7 separate regions of the Homo sapiens genome follow, and all the other regions are linked to region 1. The links are contacts of gene promoters, found by promoter capture Hi-C in human tissues and cell types (Jung and others, 2019). All regions are on one chromosome and are shown on one strand. Each heading gives the region's core, a stretch centred on a gene start or on the middle of the fragment in contact. The rest is flanking DNA. Distances are from core to core; before and after follow the strand shown.

Region 1 (3,053 bases), core at 169-2,668:
ACTAATCAATGTTATTTCTGTAAACCAGTGAGAATTCCTCACAAACAAGTTCCTATTAGTCCACTCCCTGGCCCCCTTTTTTGCCTTTAAAATCCACTGTTAACTGCTAATCGGAGTACACATTCAGGGCGCCTTGAATTTGTGCTCAAGTGTGGCCCAAATAAACTCTCTACTTAGAGAAACTGTGTCTCCGCTCGTTTTCAGGCCGACAGTTTCCAAAATGTTAGTATTCAGCCTAACATGAGAAAAGTCACCATATAAAAGTGAGGGGGGAAAAGCAAATACAGGATAATCTCAATTGTATATAAAATTTATATACGTAAGGACAAAGATACATAGTAAAAAAAAAATTCTGGCAGGTATTAAGGCTGAAAAAATTAAAACAGTCCAGAGCGGTCTGGCTCAGGCCAGCCTGGGCCTGCCGAGTAGCTGGGACCTCAGCCACCGCGCCTGGCTAAGTATTAATGAATCTGTTTTAGAGATAGGGTCTTGCTACGTTGCGCAGGCTGGTCTCCAACTCCCAGGCTCAGGTGATCCGCCCGCCACAGCCTCCCGAAGTGCTGAGCCTCCCAAAGTGCTGAGACTACAGGCCTGGCCGCCCGCCCGCCAGCTTAATTCACGTAAATTCCAGACAAACGTAGAAAGTGGCTCCTTTAGTAAGCCACTTGCGGCTGCTGCTCATCAGGGTTCGCCTGGGGCCACTGAGACCACGCGCCGGTGCCCGCCCTCCCGCTGCGGTCCGATTTTCTGAACCAACCAGGCGCTTCCGGGCGCCTTGCCCCAGACGGGCCCACCGCCTGCGCGGGCCGAGGGCGGCGCACCTGCCCCTGCGCTTCCGCATCGAAGGTGAGGTCGGAGGAAGAGAAGACCGCAACCCCCAAGCTCCCGCGGCGTGGGGTCCGGGGGGGGACACGAGGCGGGGCCACCAGGACGCCGACAGCCTCACGTCTCTGGGCCCGCGGCGCGCAAGGCATGCCGGGACCCGTAGTCCCGCGACGTTGCGACTCACAGTGCGCGATGGGAGTGGAGGAGAGCGGCTCGCGGTGCATGCCGGAACTCGTAGTCTCGGGATGCTGGGTCTCAGCGCGTGATGGGGTAATGGCACGCAGGCCTGCGTTGAACGCTGGGACTCGTAGTCCCGCCATGCTCTGTCCGCGGTGCACGCCGGGATACGTAGTTCCGAGCGCGCCAAGACCGTCACTGGGACTGGGCGACAGCGGCCCGCGTTGCATGCCGCTGCTCCACGGTGCCGGCGCTCCGAGGAAAAGTAGGTAGGGCTCAGGAACGCAGTTCTTCACGGCCGGCACGCAGGGTTGGTCCCAGGACGGAGCCGGCTCCGGCCCCGCGCGGCGCTCGTATTTACACGCGCACGTACGCACGTACGCGGCGCCCTTGCGTGACGTCACGCGCCCTCCAGGAAGTCGGCGCGGGCTAGGCGACGGGTGGAAGCCGGTACCGAGAGGAACTACAGCGTCGCCGCCTGGGTTGTGTCGCCGCGGTAGGCGCTGCGCTCTGAGCGCAGCGCAGGCCCCGTACCGACCGCCCGCCCGCCCTCTGTCCGCGATGGAGGTGCCGGCCGCGGGTCGCGTTCCTGCCGAGGGCGCCCCGACGGCGGCTGTGGCCGAGGTGCGCTGCCCGGGGCCCGCGCCGCTGCGCCTGCTGGAGTGGAGGGTGGCGGCGGGCGCGGCCGTGCGCATCGGCTCGGTGCTGGCCGTGTTCGAGGCCGCCGCCTCCGCGCAGTCCTCCGGGGCCTCTCAGTCCCGTGTAGCCTCCGGGGGCTGCGTGCGCCCCGCGCGGCCGGAACGCAGGCTGAGGTCGGAGCGCGCGGGCGTGGTGCGGGAGCTGTGCGCGCAGCCGGGCCAGGTGGTCGCCCCAGGGTGAGTGTGCTGAGCCGGGCGGGGCCGAGGGCGGGCGGCTCCGGGGAGGGATCCTGGAGGACCCCCGGGCTGCTGCGTCCGCGGTGGGCAGGGGCGCCCCTGGTGAGGGAGCGATAAAGCGGGACGCAGGCACTGCGCTTCTCCCCTAAAACTGGATAGTCACCACCTGTGGTTTTACCAACGGGGAGCATTTTGAGATAAAAGGAAAGGGTCCTGCGTAGCGACACGAAGTTACTGTTTGGAAAAGCTATGTTTGTTTCTTTCTTTCTGCAGTGATAGTCCCCGCCCCTTCCTTTAGCTCCACCTTTGTGACTTAGGAAAACTCATGGGTGGCTGTGAGCACAAGAGTCATCAGGCAGGCTCCAGACCTGTTATTGAAATATAAACTGTTGGGTGTGTGCACATCTTTAAATTTTTGTAAACTTTGTGAAACGCAGTTGTAAAACCTGGTGCAGTTCTGTTTCGTGGCTAAGGAACGGGCGGAACCCAGGCCTGCAGCGAAGGCAGTAGCCCCGTGGTTGACCACAGTGGGCATTGTCGCAGGCTGCTTCAGGGTGACGTGGGCGTTGTGACAGACTCCACAGCTCTCAGTAGCTGTGCTCTGACCCCAGAAGGGGATATGTTTCCGTAGCACCGAAGTGTCCAGCCATGTTTGAATCTACCCTTGTGTTCTGGGATGGGCGGGCAAGTGGACACGCGTGTGCGCCTGGCTCTGGTAGTTTTGATTGTGAGAACAGAAACTCCAGGGAGAGGTGGACACTCCAGCCCGCAGTGGGCCGGGCGTGAGCTCCCTCTGGGAAAGGTGCCGCTCCTTCTGGGGATGCCACTCTCTTCCCTCCTCGGCAGCCGCGGCTCCTCGTCCCTTTGGCTTGCCCTGACCCTGTGTTTGTTGAGGATCTTCTCTGCATCTGGTTCCGCAAGAGTGAGGACTGGGACAGGAGTCTTCCCGTCACAGCCCCAGAACGTCCTGGCTCCGCTTCCTTTGGAGACAGAGCCTGGGTCCTTGACCCTCGGCACGGGCACTCACTCCTGCCCCCTGCGTGCTGGTGGGTGGGGCTGGGAGGTTCAGGGCCTTGCCTCCCAGAAAATGCCTTCACGGCTTCCTCAGTGGGCACTGGCCGTACCTGGGAGGATTGTGGAGGCAGATCCCAATGCTGGTGTATTCCCTGGACAGAA
Region 2 (3,053 bases), core at 199-2,698, 490 kb after region 1:
GCGGAGGCTGCAGTGAGCTGAGATCGTGCCATTGCACTCCAGCCTGGGCAAGAAGAGCAAAACTCCATCTCAAAAAAAAAAATTATCATTTCCGCTTATTTCCTAACATAGCTACCACTTTGTCACCATTTGGACCTGTAAACAAATGTGACTGTTCCCTTGTATTTTTCCTTCTGAGATGAAGGCAGTCATGTCAGCGGCACACAGCCTCAGCTCATGGACACCGTATGGTCAGGTCGGCACCAACACAGCACACCACCCCAATCATGAGTGTGTTCCTCCTCTCTGCCGCACCCCAAGCAGAACAAAGGCCCAGATGCAGGGCTGCAAGTGTCTCTCTCAGCAGCCCCACTGCATTCTGCTAAGCAGGCGACACAGTCTGGGGCACGTGTGCCATGGCAGACACTGCTGGTGTGACCCTCGGTCATGGGGGCATCAGGACGCCTTGTCTCAGTGGAAAATCTCCACCTCCCTTAGAATTTAAAGGCGTCAAGTTCATTGAAAGCGATCAGTTACAGCCTCCTCCATGGTCAGATCTAGTTGCCCCAAACACAACAGCTCCGTGGCAGCTTTTTTACAGCAGCATTTTCAAGTTTCTGGTAAATGTCCTCTGTAGAGAGCGTCAGACAAGCAGGGGAGGTACGTGCCCCTTTCATCCTGTCCTGGCTCCTTACATCCTCAGAGCACGAGACAGTCCACAGGGTCCTCACTCCCCATGTCCACCTTCCCGGGGAACTTCAGGGGAGTGCATAGCCCTCCCTGCAGACCAGGAAGGTCTGGTCCTCCCCCGACCATAAGGGGGCTGTTCTCACAGAAGTCCCTTCAGGGCCCCTTCTCCACACCACAGCCACCTCTTTTGGGGCCCCACAACTGCAAACACTTGAGGATCCAACAAACCAGAGCCCCCTTTGATCTCAGTCGTGCTGGCCAGACCCTAACATCCCATGCTGACCCCTCTGGCCTTGGCCCTGTGCTCCAAGGGAGTTTCAGCGCATCTAAAGGTGCAGGGCTCCGTGTGTCACCGTATGGAATAATTACCACTTTTCAGGGCAAGACAATGGCCAATCAAAACAGTGACAGTTCACAATTACAAGTGACACCCATTGGGCCTCACAGGTCACATCCCTGCTGTGGGTCCTCTGTTGTGGTTCCTGCCTGAGAGCATCATGTTGCGTGTGGACGTGTGTGCAGGATAACACGTGGGCAGTGTTGTGTGTGGACCTGTGTGCCGGATAACACATGGGCAGTGTTGCGTGTGGACGTGTTGCAGGATAACACATGGGCAGTGTTGTGTGTGGACCCGTGTGCAGGATAACACATGGGCAGTGTTGCGTGTGGATGTGTGTGCAGGATAACACATGGGCAGTGCTGAGGACAGGGCACGGCTCTTCATGCAGCAGCTCACTCAGGGCAGCAAGCTTGGAGCAGGTACTCCTGGGGACAGGGACACAGGCTCAGGGATTCAGGGCCCCGGAATGGCCTGGACAGGGAAGGTCTTTTGTGTAACCCCCATGACAGGCAAGGCAGCAGCAACGCTCCACCATGTTTCCAGACAGACTTGGGGTCCTGGGAGGAGGCGCTGCAGAGGGTGGAGCTGGGGCCATGAGATGTACCCAGGCCTGTCCTCTCTTCCTCCCCCAGCGTCTCTGATGCTCTGAGCCACGTAGGGAGGACGACCATGGGAACATGGCCTAAGATGAACGCCCAGGGGATTTCTGAGCAGCAGGGAGTGTATCCCCTCATGGTGCAGCACCTCTCAGCAGCAGGCACACAGACCACCCTGTACAAAGGCAGGTTCTGAACCCCTGGGCCTGGGGTGCAGCTCAAGGACACTCAGGTGAGGTTGATGCCATGGGTTCATAAACTAATTCTGAATGACAGGAGGTTGATGAGCTAAGTAATGTCTACCACTGTCAAATGGCTGTGTAAGCTGAAAGATGAACACGTTCATAGGCAGGGGGCAAAAGAGCCAGTGGCTCCGTGGAGGAAACGGGCCGACACCCCACTTGGAGGAGGGCCAGCAAGTGCATGCGACTCTGGTTCTTCCTGAACTCTTGAAGAGATGGGCCGGCCGTGGTCTGCACCCTGAACCCCCTCCCCAGCATCCAAGGGCCCAGGGTGCGTTTGGTGCCAACCACCCCGCCTGCTTCCAGTGAGCTGCAGCTCAGGTGAGAGAACACACAACCTCAGCCTGTCTGCAGTGGGAGGTGCAGGAAGTACTGCCCGCATGCAGCTGCGGTGGTATGGGGACGAGGTGACTGAATTTCAGACAACAATCCGTTTCTCCATCTCTTTAAATATGAACCCTTGCATATGGACTTCATTAGTGAAAAATTCCAAACTTTCTTAGAAATAAAATTTGTTTTAAAGAATACCCCATTTCTAAAATTCCAACTTTGATTTCTAAAATACCTTTTTACAAGAAAAAAATTGTCACTGCTTCTTTTTCAAGCAATATGTTAAATCTGGTATTTTCCACAAAGTAAACAATTCAAGGAGTCACATTTTTTAGGCAACTGTCTAACCACCCTCTCTCCCCATATCCTGTTTTCAGTCAAATTATGTTTGTGTGTGTGTGTGTGTGTGTGTGTGTGTGTGTGTATGTATATGTATAAACTTTTTTTTTTTTGGAGACAGTCTCGCTCTGTCACCCAGGCTGGAGTGCAATGGCACAATCTCGGCTCACTACAGCCTCCACCTCCCAGCAATTCTCATGCTTCAGCCTCCTGAGTAGCTGGGATTACAGATGTGAACCACCACACCCAGCCGTCAAATTAAATTATATTTTCTTCTTCCATTTCTATTTTGAAGTATCCGTAACAAGAGGGGAAATTGAAGTCTGGTCCTATGAAGCTCTCACGGTTACAAGTTTTCAAACTAAAGATTTTCTAAGAAATATTTTCTTACAAATAACCCCTTCTGTTACATAAGGGCTTGACCTGATTTATTAAAACTATCCTGACTCTCTGGCGAGGAAGGGTGGGAACTGCTGAAGGTGCCTCTTCCAAAGGTTTCCAGGGTCCTTCTCTCGGATGGAGCCTGTCCAACTGCAC
Region 3 (3,053 bases), core at 225-2,724, 460 kb after region 1:
CAGAGGGACAAGCTCGTTACTCCACTCAAATTTCAGTTTGCCCAGGAAGACATGTTGCTTCTCAGTGGTACAATATTATCGTTAGACCTGTACATTGCCCTTTGGGTATCAGGGTGAATAGGGCATCCTGATCCTAGACATCCTTTTTCTGGTGGTGCTGTCAACAATAACAACATAGAGATGGTTACCAGAGCAGTTCCTATGTGCCAGGTGCCATTCTAAACATTTTGCATGTTAAATTTGATAGTGACAATATATTAGTGACGAAGAATGATAGTCCTGAGTTAGTGAAAACAACGATAAAAAAATGCATGCAGTTTTGCTGTTTAGATTCTCTCTGCTGAATTTTCATGAACTAAGCAACAAAATTGCCATCTATGAAGTACTGCTGGAAGTTTCTCTTATGGTTATTAAGTGTCCAGTTTCTTCAAGCTAATTTCTTTTCATAGGTGGTGAAAGTAAGTGTGAGATGTTTCTGATGATGAGGGCTTACTTGGTAGCACACCTGCTAACTCAGGCTTCTGCAAGTTCGGCTTTCTGTTGTGCAGATGCTACACCACAGCTTTAGAATTCTGATTTTTGATCATTTGTCCTAAGTACTAAGTCTTTAATATTAACTGCAAGTTTAAATGTCATTTTAGCAATATAGAGGTTATGTAGGGAAGCTGTTTTCATATTTTGTGAATGTGCCTAAAAATACATTACTTAGAACAGTACCCAGCCCTTCACTTTCTTCAGATCCTAAACTCAGGAGTTTCTTAATTTATGATCCATGAACTCCCTTGGGTAAAAAGTGTAAATATGTGACCTAGAAGGTTGGAAAAATGTTAAAGTCTAGAATATTATCAGATTTTTCATAATAGAGAGTTAAAATGAGAATGTACTTAACTACCAACCTCAAAGACCTATGCTTATATGGGGACTGCTGTCTAGGAGACCACCTTATAAAGTAGATGAAACGCCAGAGCCTGTGGTGTCTGAAAGGGATCTTTAGGCCCATCATGGTGTCCAGTTCAAAACAAATACTAATACCAGTCATTCACGCAAATGATTCAGCTGTGCATTTTGAGAGGAAAAATATATGTAAGGTTGCTAAACAGTAGCTAGTGTTGTTCTTCATGGCCTTTTAAAGAGGGTGCTCCAGACCCACTTATCTTCATTTTGCTCATCACCAGCAACATGATTTCTTTTTTTTTGCATGCTCATCTCTGAACTAAACATTATTTCTTTTAAAAAAGAAAATACATAAAGTCCTTTTCAGAAGGGAACTTTCCGATAAGAATTTAAGATATTTAAAGTGTAAACTAAACTTTGGCAGCCACATAGACGTCTATGTTTGCTGTATGCAAACTAAGCTGTGAGGTCATACTTTCAAATACAAATACAGAATTAATTGCAATGAATCAATGTATTTTTTTTCCAGAAATTGTGTAGTTTCCTACAGTTTTGAACCCATGATATGGAAAGTTTAATGTTAAATAATTTGTCATTCACCTAAAAGTGCACTAGAAAAAATAGAACATTAGCAATGAATCATAAGGCTTTAGTGGTTCAGTGGTTCTTCTGACAGTAATCTTTCTGTGTTAGATGTATGTGTATCTCGAAAGAGTCATAAAATTCATAAAAACATCCTGTGAGAGTCACAGATCCATTCACTCGTTGGACTTCCTGGCCTCCTACCAAGCAGCTTGTTTAGAATGGGAAGACTGAATATATGGAAAAACCACACAAGACAGTTTGCTGAAAATAAAAACAATTCAAACTCCAAGCATCACATATATATAATTAGGATCCCAAATTTGGACTCTTATAAGCTACAAATGCTTGAAAGAGTCCCTGTGTAGGCCCAGATTAGACGTCTCATTACAACAAGGAAAGTGATCTTTGGTCCTAAAAAGGATGGGAGATTCATCCACCGTTTGTTATTATATTGTGGAAAACAGCTTATGAAAATAACTGGGAATTTATAAGAGGTCATTTTAAAGAGATTAGGAATTTTTTAGGGAAGGTCATTTTTGGCTATTAAAACATTTTTCTAGGTTTTATATGTGCTTTCAAATGATTAAATATATCAGTAAGACTACACGAAAGGAGAGGACAGAATTGAAGGGGAGGGCAAGGATTTTTGGAATGCACTTGGGAATTCCAAGTTCAGCCCTGCTCTGTTGCCCTGCTCTGTCCCCTGCTCCCATTTCCAGCCCCACGACCCCTTTGGGATGAAGCAGCTTGGGTGTCTAATTGTGTTGGTTCTAAGGCTGCCACTCTTCTGGTTATGTCTCACATGTTGTTAGAAAATTGATAACCTCATCCCAGAACTGCACATTGTATTTACAGTGGTTCTCTGTACCCCCATTTCCTAGTCACAAACGACTTCACTTCTGACTTCATTTTTTATTCATAGGTGATAGTAGTGATCATCTTTGTCTAATAAGCTCCTAATTGAGAAGTGAGCAGAATACATCTGTATCAACTCCCAGTGCTGTACATTTTCTAGCCATTTCCTAGCTATTTGTAGCATCGGTTTTTTGTTTTTGTTTTTTTGCTTTGATATAATATTCCGTGTTTAACTGGTTTGATAAATTAGGGTAAAAGTTGAGATACTAAAAATAGATGTGTTGCTACTAAAATGCTAAACATGGTTTCAGTTCAGTATCTTATGAAAAACAAAGTTCAGTATGAAATCTGTTTAGTAATAAAGTTAGACTGTCTAGGGACATCACCATGTCTATCAGTTCTTACCTATTTGAGTCCTACTTAGAAATCCTTAAAAACATTTTTAGAATGCACATGGTTTTGTCTAAATTAAACTTCTAGTTTCCAGGGTCAAAATACTTATCCATAATGTCTGAAGGACTTGGTATAATTTAACAATATCCTGAATCTAATTTCTCAACACTAAAGAAGTTCTGACTATGACTACATAAGCTTCTACATCTGAGAACCCATGCCAAGTTCTTGCTCCCTTGGCCTGCTTTTCCGTTTACAAAAAGTGGGGGTGGGAGCAGTAGGATGATTCCTTCTGTGTTTCTTAAAGGTGTTTTCAGTATAATCAT
Region 4 (3,053 bases), core at 142-2,641, 420 kb after region 1:
AGACTAGTGATTTATAAAGAGGTTTAATTGACTCACAGTTCCACCTGGCTGGGGAGGTCTCAGGAAGCTTACAATCATGGCAGAAGGTGAAGGAGAAGCAAGGCACCTCCAATATGGTGGCAGGAGAGAGAGAGAGAACTCACTGGAAACTGCCACTTTTAAACCATCAGATAGTGAGAACTCCCTCACTATCAGAAGAATGACATGGGAAACCACCCCCGTGATCCAATCACTTCCCACCAGGTTCCTCCCGTGACACACGAGGATTACAATTCGAGATGAGATTTGGGTGGGGACACAGAGCTAAACCATATCACAGTTCTTGTCTCCCCATTTGACCTCCTTGTTCCTGCTTCCATGCAGACATTGCTGCTGTCTGAGAATGCATACTTCCCAGGCAGCCAATTAGCATTTTAGGAGATTCTGTTCCTCTCCACTTACTGTTCACGCTGCAATGCCCTGAATCCTCCTGCTGTCATGCCCCTGCCAAGGAAAGGGAGCCTCAAGGGAGTGCTACCTCAGCCAGGGAGCCTTCTGTAACTTTTTAGGTTCACTGGAGACCTCGATGGAGAACCCTGACCTAATACTATTTGTGAATGGATTGTAGCTCAAAAGTGAAGCTGGGGGTGGTCAGGTAGGATGTGCTATCACCACCTTCTATTCTTTGTTAAGGATATCATCCTCTCCCGATGTAAAATCAACCCTGATGGCCAAGCTCACTGTGTTTACTAGAGATTGTCAGACAGTCAGAGTCCAGAGTGGCTGCACACAGAGGCAGCAGGTGGGCTTTGGGAGCAGCACACAACTGTGGGAAGCTTTGGAAACAGAGGAGGTTTCTCACTTCTACTGGGACCCCCATCCAAAATGGATAAGTTCAGAAGCTTTTAGCTGGACTCCTACTTCCTAAAGAGGTGAGGCCTTTCCCTTCTATTAAGGTTGAGGCCTAGGCAAGAAGAGACACCATGGAAACTAAAGGAAATACTTGGTCCTCATGCCAAACAGTTTTAACAAAGGCTGTGATCCTAATCTAACCCCTAAAGAATAAACCCCTGGAGGGATTCAAAGAGGCCACTATAAGATATCCACTATTATGGAAGAAGCCCGGTTGTACCGTTACTCAGATAATCTCTGGCACTTCTAAGAAGGCCTGTTGGTGGTACTAGATGATTTCAGATGAATATTGGCTAAATTTCTCAATGAAACTACTGCTCATGGTACAGACAAATTGGTTACTATCTTAAATCAATATTGGTGGGAGAACTTTAAAAAGATAGTTGAGATTATTTTAGGCACGTGTTATGACCTGTCGACAATATAATCGTGGAAAAATCCGTAAAGATGGAACATGGCCAGGGATTAAAATCTCAAGAGCCCCGTGAGCATCTTCAGATGGTGATATGGTTTGGCTCTGTGTCCCCACCCAAATCTCATTTTGAATTGTACTTCCATAATTCCCACGGGTTGCGGGAAGAACCCAGTGGGAGAGAATTGAATCATGGGGGCGGTTTCCCCATGCTGTTCTCATGGTAGTGAATAAGTCTCATGAGATCTGATGGTTTGATAAGGGGAAACCGTTTCACTTGGCTCTCCTCTCTTTTGCTGCCAGCACATGAGACGTGCCTTTCACCTTCTGCCATGATTGTGAGGCCTCCCCAGTCACGTGGAACTCTAAGTCCAATAAACCTCTTTCTTTTGTAAATTGCCCAGTCTCATGTATGTCTTTATCAGCGGTGTGAAAACAGACTAATACAGGTGGATTTTACCTGGCTTCTGCCCGCCGTGAGAGTTGAGGATGTTTGTTATTGCATGTCTGTTTTCAGGGTGGGTTAAAATATTTCCTTACCAAAAAGCCACAGCCCTTACAGTTCCTAAAAAGCTGCTTGCTTTCATGTTTCCAACCTGGAGCATCTCAGCTTTCACATCAAGTGACCAAGGCACACACTCTATGGAGCCATTATAAGAGGATCCTATAAAGTGTTACCTCCTACCCCCAAACCACACTGCCTTCACTACCCATATATTCTGAATAGATTGAGAGAGCCAATGGCATCCTTAAATTAAAGGTAGGAAAAATTTCAGAAACCCTGGAGCTCCTTTGGCCAAAGGTAATCCCACTCCCCTTCAGGCCGTATGGTTCCCTCCTTCAGGGTGACATCAATTACCCTCTGAACTGGTGCTATAGACTGAATGTCTCACCAAAACTTGTATGTTGAAATCCTAACCACCAATGTGATTTATTAAGAGTGGGGTCTTTGGGAGGTGAGTAAGTTATGATGGTGAAGCCCTCACAGATGGGGTTAGTGCCCTTATAAACAGAGGTCCAGGGGAGACCCATAACTTCTTCCACCATTTGAGGTGATGGTGAGAAGATGGCCTTCGATGATGACCTAGGACCTCACCAGACACTGAATCCGATCACTGCCTTGATCTTGGACTTCCCAGCCTCCTGAACTGTGAGAAATAGATGTCTGTTGTTTATAAGCCACCCAGTCTGGTATTTTGTTATAGCAGCCTGAATGGACTAAGACAACTTGTAATGCATTTAGGGATTTCATCTCTGATACTAGCCTCTGCCCTGCTGCACCCAGACGAGCAAAATACTGGTGATGTTCAATATTCAACAGCCCCCTTCTTACAACATCTTCCTAAATAGCTTCTTCATGATCTTCAACCTGGAGATTTTGTCTGTTAGAAGAGATGTCTGAGAAAATTGCTCTTAAATTGTGTTGGAAGGGACTTACCATCTACGTTAACAACAACCACAGCAGTGAAACTCCAGTAACATTTCACAACTTGCTAAAGAAGCAATCCAGAATCCCACACAATTGGAAGCCTCTTCCAAGAGCAGACCTCACGCTTTAGAGATTCCCCACAAGGAACCCATCTTAGGAAGTAGGAAGCTGACTCAAGACCTTTAGAACAAGCTCAAACAGTGGAAAGTTTCTGCTTAAGACATTCAAGACTCTGATTCCTGTTTTAGTTTTCATCTTTTGCCTATGATCATTCTTCTAATTTTCTATAGGCCTCTTGTTGCTGTCCACTCATAATGACCC
Region 5 (3,053 bases), core at 1-2,500, 370 kb after region 1:
CAGTGCCTCCTAGAAAGTGGAGTGTGGGCACGTTTGCAGGGGATCCAACCAGGCGTCTGCTCAGTGCCTCCTAGAAAGTGGAGTGTGGGCACGTTTGTAGGGGATCCCACCAGGCATCAGCTCAGTGCCTCCTAGAAAGAGGAGTGTGGGCACGTTTCAGAGAAAACTGGCTTAGGCCTCCCTGTTTCTGGCGTGGCCTTCCCTGGGAGCGAGTTAGGGACACGGAAGCTCACCCGCTTCTGAATGGGTCCACTCCTGGGGATTTCCGCGGCCTTCCCTGGGAGCGGGTTAGGGACACGGAAGCTCACCCCCTTCTGAATGGGTCCACTCCTGGGGATTTCCGCGGCCTTCCCTGGGAGCGGGTTAGGGACATGGAAGCTCACCCTCTTCTGAATGGGTCCACTCCTGGGGATTTCCACGGCCTTTCCTGGGAGCAGGTTAGGGACATGGAAGCTCACGCCCTTCTGAATGGGTCCACTCCCGGGGATTTCCATGGCCTTCCCTGGATGATCCACTCCTGGGGATTTTCCGCAGCTCTCCAGATGACGTGCACGCACACTAAACACCCAGAAGTTAGGGAGGCACTGATCCAGTGAAGTCCTCAGATCAACCTTGTGAGCTTTTTACAAGTACCTGTCACTGTTAAACTGCTGATGAAATGTGAAACGACTTCACAGGTTTTCAGTCTGATAAGCTCTCCTGTGTCACTGTCCCTTACCTTGTTAGTAAAGGTCAATGGTTCTCAAAGTTCCGGGCACATCCCCTGGGGGCTCATAAAACCAGACTGTCGGCCACTTCAGCCTTCTGGTTCGCTGTTCCTTGGTAATGCAGATGGCCCAGTAAGCAACTCTACAAACATTAGAACATTTTGAGGTAGACAGGGGAACTTAATCACCCCTTGTAGGCCCCCAGAAGACTGGACCCAACATCCAGCACAATGCCTCTCAGCCTTGGCTGTGCATCTGAAACACCTGCTGTTTGAAGACACCTGGGCCTGGAGACGGGCCAGAGCCACCTTGGTGGTCTGAGTATGAGGCCAGCATTAGAACCTCTGCTCTACGGGTGACTGCCCTGGGTTGATTTTTTTCCAGTATTATCTTTAGTACAGAATCTTTTCCTCTCTAAGGGCCTGAGACCCTCTCTTAGGAATAGAAGTACAGTTTTCTTCCCCACTCCTTTTGTCCAGAAGGAAAACCTGGTTTTACATCAGAAACTTGAGGTACTTTGAAAATTTGCCAGCTGCCTTGAAGGAGAGAGGGCTTGAGTGTATTTTGGGGGAAGAATGAGGGGACAACAGGGCAGGGAGAAGGGACAGAGCTAGAGGAAGGACAGGCCTGTGCCACCCAGGCCAGGGTAAGGGGAGCAGAGACCTTTTGGTTCCTGGTTTGTGACACAGGAAGGGAGGGAACTGGGGAGGACAGGTCATGATCAGTGTTTCCTGATTAAAAATTTTTTATTTTTATTTTTAATTATCATGGGCACAGAGTAGGTGTATATATTTGTGGGGTACATGAGATGTTTTGATACAGACATGCAATGTGAAAAAGCACATCATGGAGACTGGGGCACCCATCCCCTCAAGCATTTATCCTTTGTGCCACAAACAATCCGATTATATTGTTTTAGTTATTTTTAAATATGCAATTAAATTGTTATTGACTATAGTCACCCTTCTGTGCTGCTGCTCTACTGTGGCCTCAAAGATCATAAATGCTGTGGGTGCTGGCAAGATACTGAAATAAATTAATTCTGTATTTCTAAAAATAATTTCATACTTTCTTTTTACAGAAGGAATATATATTCTTTGTTGAAAAATGTTAAAACAGATACCAATAGAATAGAGGAAACAAAAGCCCCATGTAGTCTCAGCTACCAGAGACACCACTGTTAAATTTTGGTGTAGCATCAGGTGCGGTGGCACGTGCTGTTAGTACTCAGGAGACTGAGGCAGGAGGATCACTGGAGTCTGGGAGTTTGAGGCTGCAAGCACATTGATTGCACCTGTGAATAGTCACTGCACTCCATCCTGGGCGACAGAGTGAGGCCCTGTCTCAAAAAAAAGATGGTAACATCAGAATGTTAACCGAGCATGAGGTCCCCATGCCCACATGGGCAGCACACCTGGGAAGCCAGCCCTGATGTCAGTTAATCCTCAGGCCTCTTTGAGGTGTGCCATTTGCCCTAGGGATGTCCTGTATGGCAAAGGGCCTGTTCCAGAGGCACTTGTTATGTTTACCTGTCACCCTCAATCCCATGCCCTCGAGTAGCTCTTGGGCTTCCTTGAGCCTTCGTGGCCCTAATTTTGAGGAGTGCAGCCGTTATTTTGTGGAGTGTTCCTCAGTTTGGGCTTGTCTGGTGTTTCCTCATGATCACATTTAGTACTTGCTTTTTTGCAGGGACATCACAGCAGTGATGCTGTGCTGTCAGTGTTGGGTTGTATGTTCCTGGTGATGTCCACAATGATGAGCTGAAGAAAGGGGTGTCTGTTGGGCTTCTCCCTGTGAACTTACTCTTAAGTATTTACTTTTTGAAACAAATGAAAACAGAGACACAAGACACCAAAACCTCTGGGATACGATAAAAGCAGTGCTAAAACGGAAGCTTATACCATTAAATGCCTACTTCAAACATACAAAAGATCACAAATTAACAACCTAACATTGCACCTCAAGGAACTAGAAAAATAAGAACAAATCAAAGTCAAAGCTAGCAGAAGAAATAAGAAATATGAGGGCAGAACTAAATGAAGTTGAGACCAAAAGAAAAATACAAAGGATCAATGAAATGAAAAGTTGGTTTTTTGAAAAAGTAAACAAAATTGATAGGCTGATAGCTAGATTAACCAAGAAACAGAAGATGCAAATAAACACAGTCAGAAATAAAAATGGAGGCAGTACAACTAACACCACAGAAATGCAAAAGATCCTCAGAGACTACTGTGAATACCTCTACATTCACAAACTAGAAAACCTAGAGGAAATGGATAATGCCTGGAAACATACAGACTCCTAAGGTTGAACCAGGAAGAAACAGAAATCCTGAACAGACCAATA
Region 6 (3,053 bases), core at 152-2,651, 370 kb before region 1:
GACTCCCATGTGTCTTCTGGGTGGGCATCCCTCTCCGTGTTTTCGCAGGTTCTGAGTAGCAGGCTTTATCTTCCTTACGCCACATCTGCCTTCTTTTCAGGGGCTCACAAGCGTCGCCTGCTGAGCGAACCTTGGCTGTGTGGGAAGATGGTGCGGGGAGCTACTGGTCAAGTGGGAGGAGGGGAGTAAAACACATCTGTAGGAATATTGGTCCTTAAAACTATATTAGTGGAAGTTTAAGTAGGAGCTAGTTTCCTATAGTTTAGCAAGGCCATGTCCCAAAGTTTAGATGGTATTTGCCTTTTTGGTACAATGTGAAATTACGATAAAGAACTTAAGTTCCTTCTTGTGAATCACATTGTCACTTCCCTCTTTTCAGAAAGTAATTGGCAAAGTCTCTGAAAATTGGGATCAGTTGAAGTATTAGATTTCAGAAAAGCTCCAGAATACAATGTCGTCATCGTATAGAGTTTTTCAACTTTGAGGAAATGTGGAAACCCAAGCTCCACTCTTCCCACTCCCTGTCAGCGCGCTGTTGGCTACACCTTTCTGTCAGTGGGCACGATTGTTAAGCTTCCTTTAGCCATCAGCCCTGTTACAGTTCATAGATTGTGTTGACTGATAGATACGTAAAAATCTCTGTAGCTAAACTCAGAACCACGTTTGGAATTGGGGTGTGTGTATGTGTCTCAGATCCATTTATTTAGTAAAAGAGAATCTGAGCGAAGAGGCGTAGTTCCACAATCATAAGCAAATATGGGCATTTAGACTGACAAGACGATGAGTTGAGACTTGTAAGATTTATCAGTTGCTGTCTTCTTAGCATTCTAGTGTGGGCTGTGAGACAAACACAGGTCATGAGCAACCGCTCTGTAAGAGGAAGCAAGCCCCCATATTCCTATCAAGAAGGGGTCGAACACATTGTTTTTTCTGTTATGGCATTCTGGAAATTCTCAAAAATGTCATGTGATTATGTATTGAAAAAGAAGGATTTTCCTGCCATAAATATGAGAAACCTAGACTAGAGATTTTTCCCAAAGAAAACTGTATTTGAAGTTTTAAAAATACTGTATTACATATTTACCATATTACCTTATTCCACATTTTTTATTCAAAGTATCTGGGATTTTTTATTTTTAAGTTTTAATATAAGTCATAACACTTTTTGAATCTTAAATTGGGAATTCACAATAGAGATTTCATTGACTCCAAGATTATTAAAAATTTAGAGAAACTATAGACATTGCTAACCTTACAGTTAAATTTTTTTACTTGTCTAAAATGTCTTTCTACTTGGGAAATTGGACAATGATAAAAAATAGCAGAACATTAAATAACCTTTTAAAAATCCCTAAAACGTATTTTAAATCTGAAAATGAAAACAATAGACTTCATCATAATTTTTAAAGAGCTCTATTGATGCAATGTTTGCAAGTCCCTAAAGCCTCAGGAAAATCATCTAAATGGTTCATTATTTAGCTTATTGAACTTTGCTGCAGTTAGGTTGACGGATGATAGTAGTGTTTCCCGATCACCAAAGTACCGTTTTAAAAGCATTTTTTATCGAATAAAGTGCTTAGAATATTGCACCCTGGAGCTTTATTTAGGGAAATGGTTCAATTGATGTTTTCTATTTAACCTCAGCTCTGACCTATCACAACATCTATGGTTAATAAGCAACATTATCATTTGAGAGACTTAACTAGTTTCATCCACTGTGCACCCATACCATCCTCTTAAAACCCTGTTTGTGGCGCTGTGTCATCTCGGTCTTTAGGAAGGATGCAGTTTAGTAAGTAGAGTGCCCTAGTTTTAGTCGCTGATACACAGTTGCTGTTCTTCAGGAAATAAGCAGTCTTTGATTTTCATTTTTCCTGAAGGAGAAACAATCTTTCTCCTTACCTACACATGTGCATAGATGAATCTGTATTATACAAATAATTGAATTCTGAGGAATTAATTTTAAATCCTTAAAGGTCCTGTGAGGCATAAGCAATTAAACACTTGAAGTGTGATGTGTCTTGTGTGGTATGTGTGGTGATACGATACTTGAAGGTAGATGTGATGGTGATTGTCAAAGTGTAAATAACTGATTTCGTATTCATAATGTGGAACCTACTTATGCCCCGGTCATTGTTTCTTATGATAAGTGATCAATATTTCATTTTCTCTAAGAGAGTAGAAAGTTCTGCTTGCCTATCACTTGCTCTCCGCAGGCTCAGCATAGCAGGCTCTAGCTGAGCAAACGTTAAATGCTCTCTGGAAGTTCCCTCACAGAATTAAAATTCAGCCCTGTTTAACTGTTAGGGCATATGTCCAGTGCAGTCGCAGGACACCAGCACCGAACTAGTGGCATGAGCCCTCGGAGAAGGACAGAAGCTCGGTGGGCAGAGCCTCTGAGTGCAGAGGGTGTCAGCTCAAGCGCTGAAGGCGTGGGGTGGAAGGAACTTTGAAGACCGCCGGCTTCTTTTGGTCCAGAAAGAGTGACTGTGATTCTTAATGACTGCTTATTCCTCTAGACTAGCTGTTTAGTAGTCTCATTCTTTTCCCTCTGTGGCTGTGTTTTCTCATGTTGGTAAGTTCCGTATTTAAATAGTATTTCAGAATGTAGCTGTCATCGCCTGACTCCAGTATTTATTTGCAAGAATCAGCTATAATTAATGACAGAGCACAAGTGGGTTATTAATAGTATTGCTTTTGGGTTTACAGAAGTAGGCACTAATGCATGAGGCGTGCTGTATTTTTTAATTCATTTTATCGTGTGTGCCTATTGAAGCAAGACTAATTGTGGGGTTTTGTCAGATATATTTGTGAGGAGCAAATCATTGTCAGTGACATAAAGCCTTCACACTGTGACCTTCAGGACCAATAGAGAATAAATACTACGTAGCCTATCTGTGAATATTGATTAGCAGCTTTTTCAGATGATCAAATTGCATCTTATGTTAATAATTCCATTAAAATATAGAGATGATTATAATAACCACAATCAAAAATGATGAAATCTCAGTGATTAAATTATGATGTACAAAGTGCATGGTAAGAAAATGTAT
Region 7 (3,053 bases), core at 333-2,832, 350 kb before region 1:
CACGCCTCTCCTCCAGCCCTTCCTGCCATCCCTGCAGCCTCCAGTCCAACGTCAAATACAATCAACTGGATGAATTAAAAAGAAATTGCAAATAATATGAAGAGTTCAATAATGTTTATTTGCCTACAGATTAACCTTGATCAGCAGATACAGTACACTGGCTTCATTAGAGTGGGGCCTCCCACATGGAGGGCTGCCTGATGCCCAGGAGAGATGATGGGTGGTGACAGGGTCTCTGCGCGTGCCTGGGGGGCCGTGATGTGTTTCCAAATGTGCGGCTGTGCCCGGGTGGTTTCTCAGCACTTTTCCTGGGCAGTGCTGAGAAAGGTCAGATGCCCAAAGTCCCAGCTGTCTGGGCTGCAACTGCCATCTCTGGCTTTCTGTTGCTGTCTGAGGAGCTGGCCTCTCCACTGCATGTCCACCCCAAGGGCTGGCGGAGCCTTCCTTAGGGACACTGTCATGTTCTTCTCCCTGCCATGCAGATTCTCAGTGTTCAGCACAACATTGCACAAACCAGGTTTACTAGTATTTGATCTTCTTTTCCGTAAACAAGTGTAGCTAATTAACTTGTTTAGGATATCCTTGCTTAAGTGTCTGCATTATCAATGTTCACATTTTTAAAGTTTTAAATATACATTGAAAATAATGTTTTTGATTAGTTGTTCTCTAGCTGTAACGTAGAGCTTTATTCTCCTTGGAGGTTACCAAAATAGCCTCTAAAAGACCTCTCCCCTCACTGTGTGTCATGGTGGCAGGGCAGGTCTTGGAGGTTACCAAAATAGCCTCTAAAAGACCTCTCCTCTCGCCGTGTGTCATGGTGGCAGGGCAGGTTAGCAGCTGCACCACCTCTGCGGGCTCATTGCGGCCGTAGCTAAGTTGGGAGTGTCCACCTGAGCTACAGAAAGTTCCTGGGGCTTCAGGAAGATGTGATTACCACTGATTTCTCTGTATTGTCAACCCCAGTGTCAGAGACAGGAGCTTTGTAAACATGGTTAAAATTTGAAAGAGTTGCTCAAATTTGAAATTTGAGAGGGAGTCAACAACATCTGGATGGAGAGTCTTAAGCAGCGAATCTTTCGGGACCTTCCAGAGCACAGAGAAGCCCTCTCTACAGGGAGGGTCACTGTTAAAGCATCTTAAAGTATGTTAGCCCTAATAAGTTGAAACTGCTAGGCTGGGCGCGGTGGCTCACGCCTGTAATCCCAGCACTTTGAGAGGCTGAGGTGGGCAGATGATGAGGTCAGGAGAGCAAGACCATCCTGGCCAACATGGTGAAACCCCGTCTCTACTAAAAATACAAAAAAAATAGACAGGGTGGTGGCAGGCGCCTGTAGTCCTAGCTGCTGGGGAGGCTGAGGCAGGAGAATGGCATGAACCCGGGAGGCAGAGCTTGCAGTGAGCCGAGATCGTGCCACTGCACTCCAGCCTGGGTGACAGAGCAAGACTCTGTCTCAAAAAGAAAAAAAAAAGTTAGAAACTGCTAGATTCAAAAATTGATAGTTATACAGCTTAGTGTTCATTACTTTGGTTTTTTTAATGTACTTTTTATAGAACACACCACAGCTTTAAAGCTTAGGCACACCTCACCCAGCACTTAGTAATCAATTGTAGGGCCTCTCTGTATCCCTGGAAGAGAGCCCGGCTGTCCTGAGCCCCGTCCTGGTCCACACAGCAGAGGGGGGTGGGGTTGTCTCCTGACAGCCCCGACACCCCCTGGGGCTGTCCGGGAGCCCAGCACCCTCCACCCCTGCCTCTTGTCTGCATCCCCCAGACGTTGGCCCCTTGGGCAGGACCGTGTGTGCTCACAGCTAAGTCCTACACACGCCTGGCCCCCAGGAGACCCACCGGCGCCCTCCCTCCCACATCTGCCCAGACGCCCACCCCCCCCTTGTGCCGGATAGGAGACCCACCGGTGCCCTCCCTCCCACATCTGCCCAGTCGCCCACACCGCCTTGTTCCAGGTAGGAGACCCACCGGTGCCCTCCCTCCCACATCTGCCCAGTCGCCCACACTGCCTTGTTCCGGGTAGGAGAGCGGGGTGGGTTTGTTTCTTCACCTGCCTTGCAGGAACACGTGCCCTCACGCGTCTGTTCCTGTGGCCGCATGAGGCCTGTCCCTCTGGGTGTCCTTCACGTCACCACAACCACGTGAGGGAGGAACTGTTTTCACTTTGCACACAAGGAAATGGCACAGAAAGCGCAGAGTTCCAGAAGTGGCTTCTGCCGCTCTGCCAGATTCTCTCCGCTGGCTATGTGGAAATGCAGGATGTAGCTATTAACTATGAGCAGGCTCGTTCAAGCCTTTTAAAACCTGACCCTCGTTCATGTAAGCAATATGGCAGCGTCAACCTCGTGTGGACATCAGGGTCTACTTTTGTAAGTGCAGTTTGAACTTCCAGGACTGGGATGTGTGTCACTGGTATGAGCAGTTTAACTTTGAGAGTGTTACCTCCACACAGGTTTGCTCCTGCACCACCCCTCAGCCTTGTCCCAGAGAGCCTGTTTCTTCACCCATCACCAGCTAAAACTGTTGCACTTTTACCTCTAATGGGAAAGTAGTGTTTTTTATTTTGACACCTTCCCTGACTGAACACGGTTAGCACCGTTTCATGAGCTCATTGCAGGCATTTCCATGTCTTGCTTTAACACGCACATCAGGCCCCGTGACTCCTGCAGGGCTCCCCCAACTCTGGAAGGCGAATGCAGGGTGAGGCTTGTGAGCTTTGGGATCTGGCCGTGTCCCCACCAACCCCAGCTCTCACCGCGGCCCTGCACTCCTGCCCTCCCCTCCATCACTAACTGCGCTTACTGCTCATGATTGGCTGCCCTGCAAGGCCAGTTACATGCACGTTAAAAATAGAGCAAGAAGAACTTACGCAGATTCACGGAGTTAGTCCCAGAGCAACACTCTTATGAGCCCATTTCTATGAAGGAGGAAACAAGTACAGAAAAATGAGGTCGTTTGCCCAAAAACACAAAGTCTGTGGCAGAAACAGGTTTCCGGCCCAGCCACCTGGTTCTAAATCCATGGTATTACAACACGCCAGGGGGGTC

Evidence for each region. Contacts are between HindIII fragments. The study calls those that stand out against the background at their distance.
Region 2: a fragment that was not itself captured here is called in contact with the fragment with the promoter of CTDP1 in region 1 in 1 of the 25 tissues and cell types used here (spleen).
Region 3: a fragment that was not itself captured here is called in contact with the fragment with the promoter of CTDP1 in region 1 in 1 of the 25 tissues and cell types used here (spleen).
Region 4: a fragment that was not itself captured here is called in contact with the fragment with the promoter of CTDP1 in region 1 in 3 of the 25 tissues and cell types used here (dorsolateral prefrontal cortex, lymphoblastoid cells and spleen).
Region 5: a fragment that was not itself captured here is called in contact with the fragment with the promoter of CTDP1 in region 1 in 2 of the 25 tissues and cell types used here (IMR-90 fibroblasts and spleen).
Region 6: a contact is called between a fragment that was not itself captured here and the fragment with the promoter of CTDP1 in region 1, in 2 of the 25 tissues and cell types used here (H1 embryonic stem cells and dorsolateral prefrontal cortex).
Region 7: a fragment that was not itself captured here is called in contact with the fragment with the promoter of CTDP1 in region 1 in 2 of the 25 tissues and cell types used here (H1 embryonic stem cells and dorsolateral prefrontal cortex).

What each region holds. Positions count from the first base shown.
Region 1 is chr18:79,678,385-79,681,437 of GRCh38, forward strand. CTDP1 (CTD phosphatase subunit 1) reads left to right here and starts at 1,419. Exons shown (of 13, transcript NM_004715.5): 1 at 1,419-1,877. The coding sequence starts at 1,564. It overlaps CTDP1-DT (CTDP1 divergent transcript), which reads right to left and starts at 1,361. Exons shown (of 5, transcript NR_136643.1): 1 at 1,010-1,361. RefSeq lists enhancers at 544-1,051, 1,052-1,560. The HindIII fragment of the contact is 29,025 bases long and covers 1-3,053 here.
Region 2 is chr18:80,166,008-80,169,060 of GRCh38, forward strand. The region is part of intron 2 of PARD6G (par-6 family cell polarity regulator gamma); the gene reads right to left. All of the region lies in intron 1 of PARD6G-AS1 (PARD6G antisense RNA 1), which reads left to right. Among named protein-coding and RNA genes, the nearest start is that of PARD6G-AS1, 20 kb to the left of the region's middle. The HindIII fragment of the contact is 6,518 bases long and covers 1-3,053 here.
Region 3 is chr18:80,142,443-80,145,495 of GRCh38, forward strand. No RefSeq gene overlaps it. Among named protein-coding and RNA genes, the nearest start is that of PARD6G-AS1, 4.0 kb to the right of the region's middle. The HindIII fragment of the contact is 4,554 bases long and covers 1-3,053 here.
Region 4 is chr18:80,099,419-80,102,471 of GRCh38, forward strand. No RefSeq gene overlaps it. Among named protein-coding and RNA genes, the nearest start is that of ADNP2, 8.3 kb to the right of the region's middle. The HindIII fragment of the contact is 4,451 bases long and covers 1-3,053 here.
Region 5 is chr18:80,048,888-80,051,940 of GRCh38, forward strand. RBFA (ribosome binding factor A) reads left to right here. Exons shown (of 7, transcript NM_024805.3): 7 at 1-1,764. Among named protein-coding and RNA genes, the nearest start is that of RBFA, 16 kb to the left of the region's middle. RefSeq lists an enhancer at 1-850. The HindIII fragment of the contact is 5,421 bases long and covers 1-3,053 here.
Region 6 is chr18:79,312,500-79,315,552 of GRCh38, forward strand. All of the region lies in intron 15 of ATP9B (ATPase phospholipid transporting 9B (putative)), which reads left to right. Among named protein-coding and RNA genes, the nearest start is that of NFATC1, 82 kb to the right of the region's middle. The HindIII fragment of the contact is 3,897 bases long and covers 1-3,053 here.
Region 7 is chr18:79,332,904-79,335,956 of GRCh38, forward strand. All of the region lies in intron 17 of ATP9B (ATPase phospholipid transporting 9B (putative)), which reads left to right. Among named protein-coding and RNA genes, the nearest start is that of NFATC1, 62 kb to the right of the region's middle. RefSeq lists a silencer at 2,897-3,053. The HindIII fragment of the contact is 8,839 bases long and covers 1-3,053 here.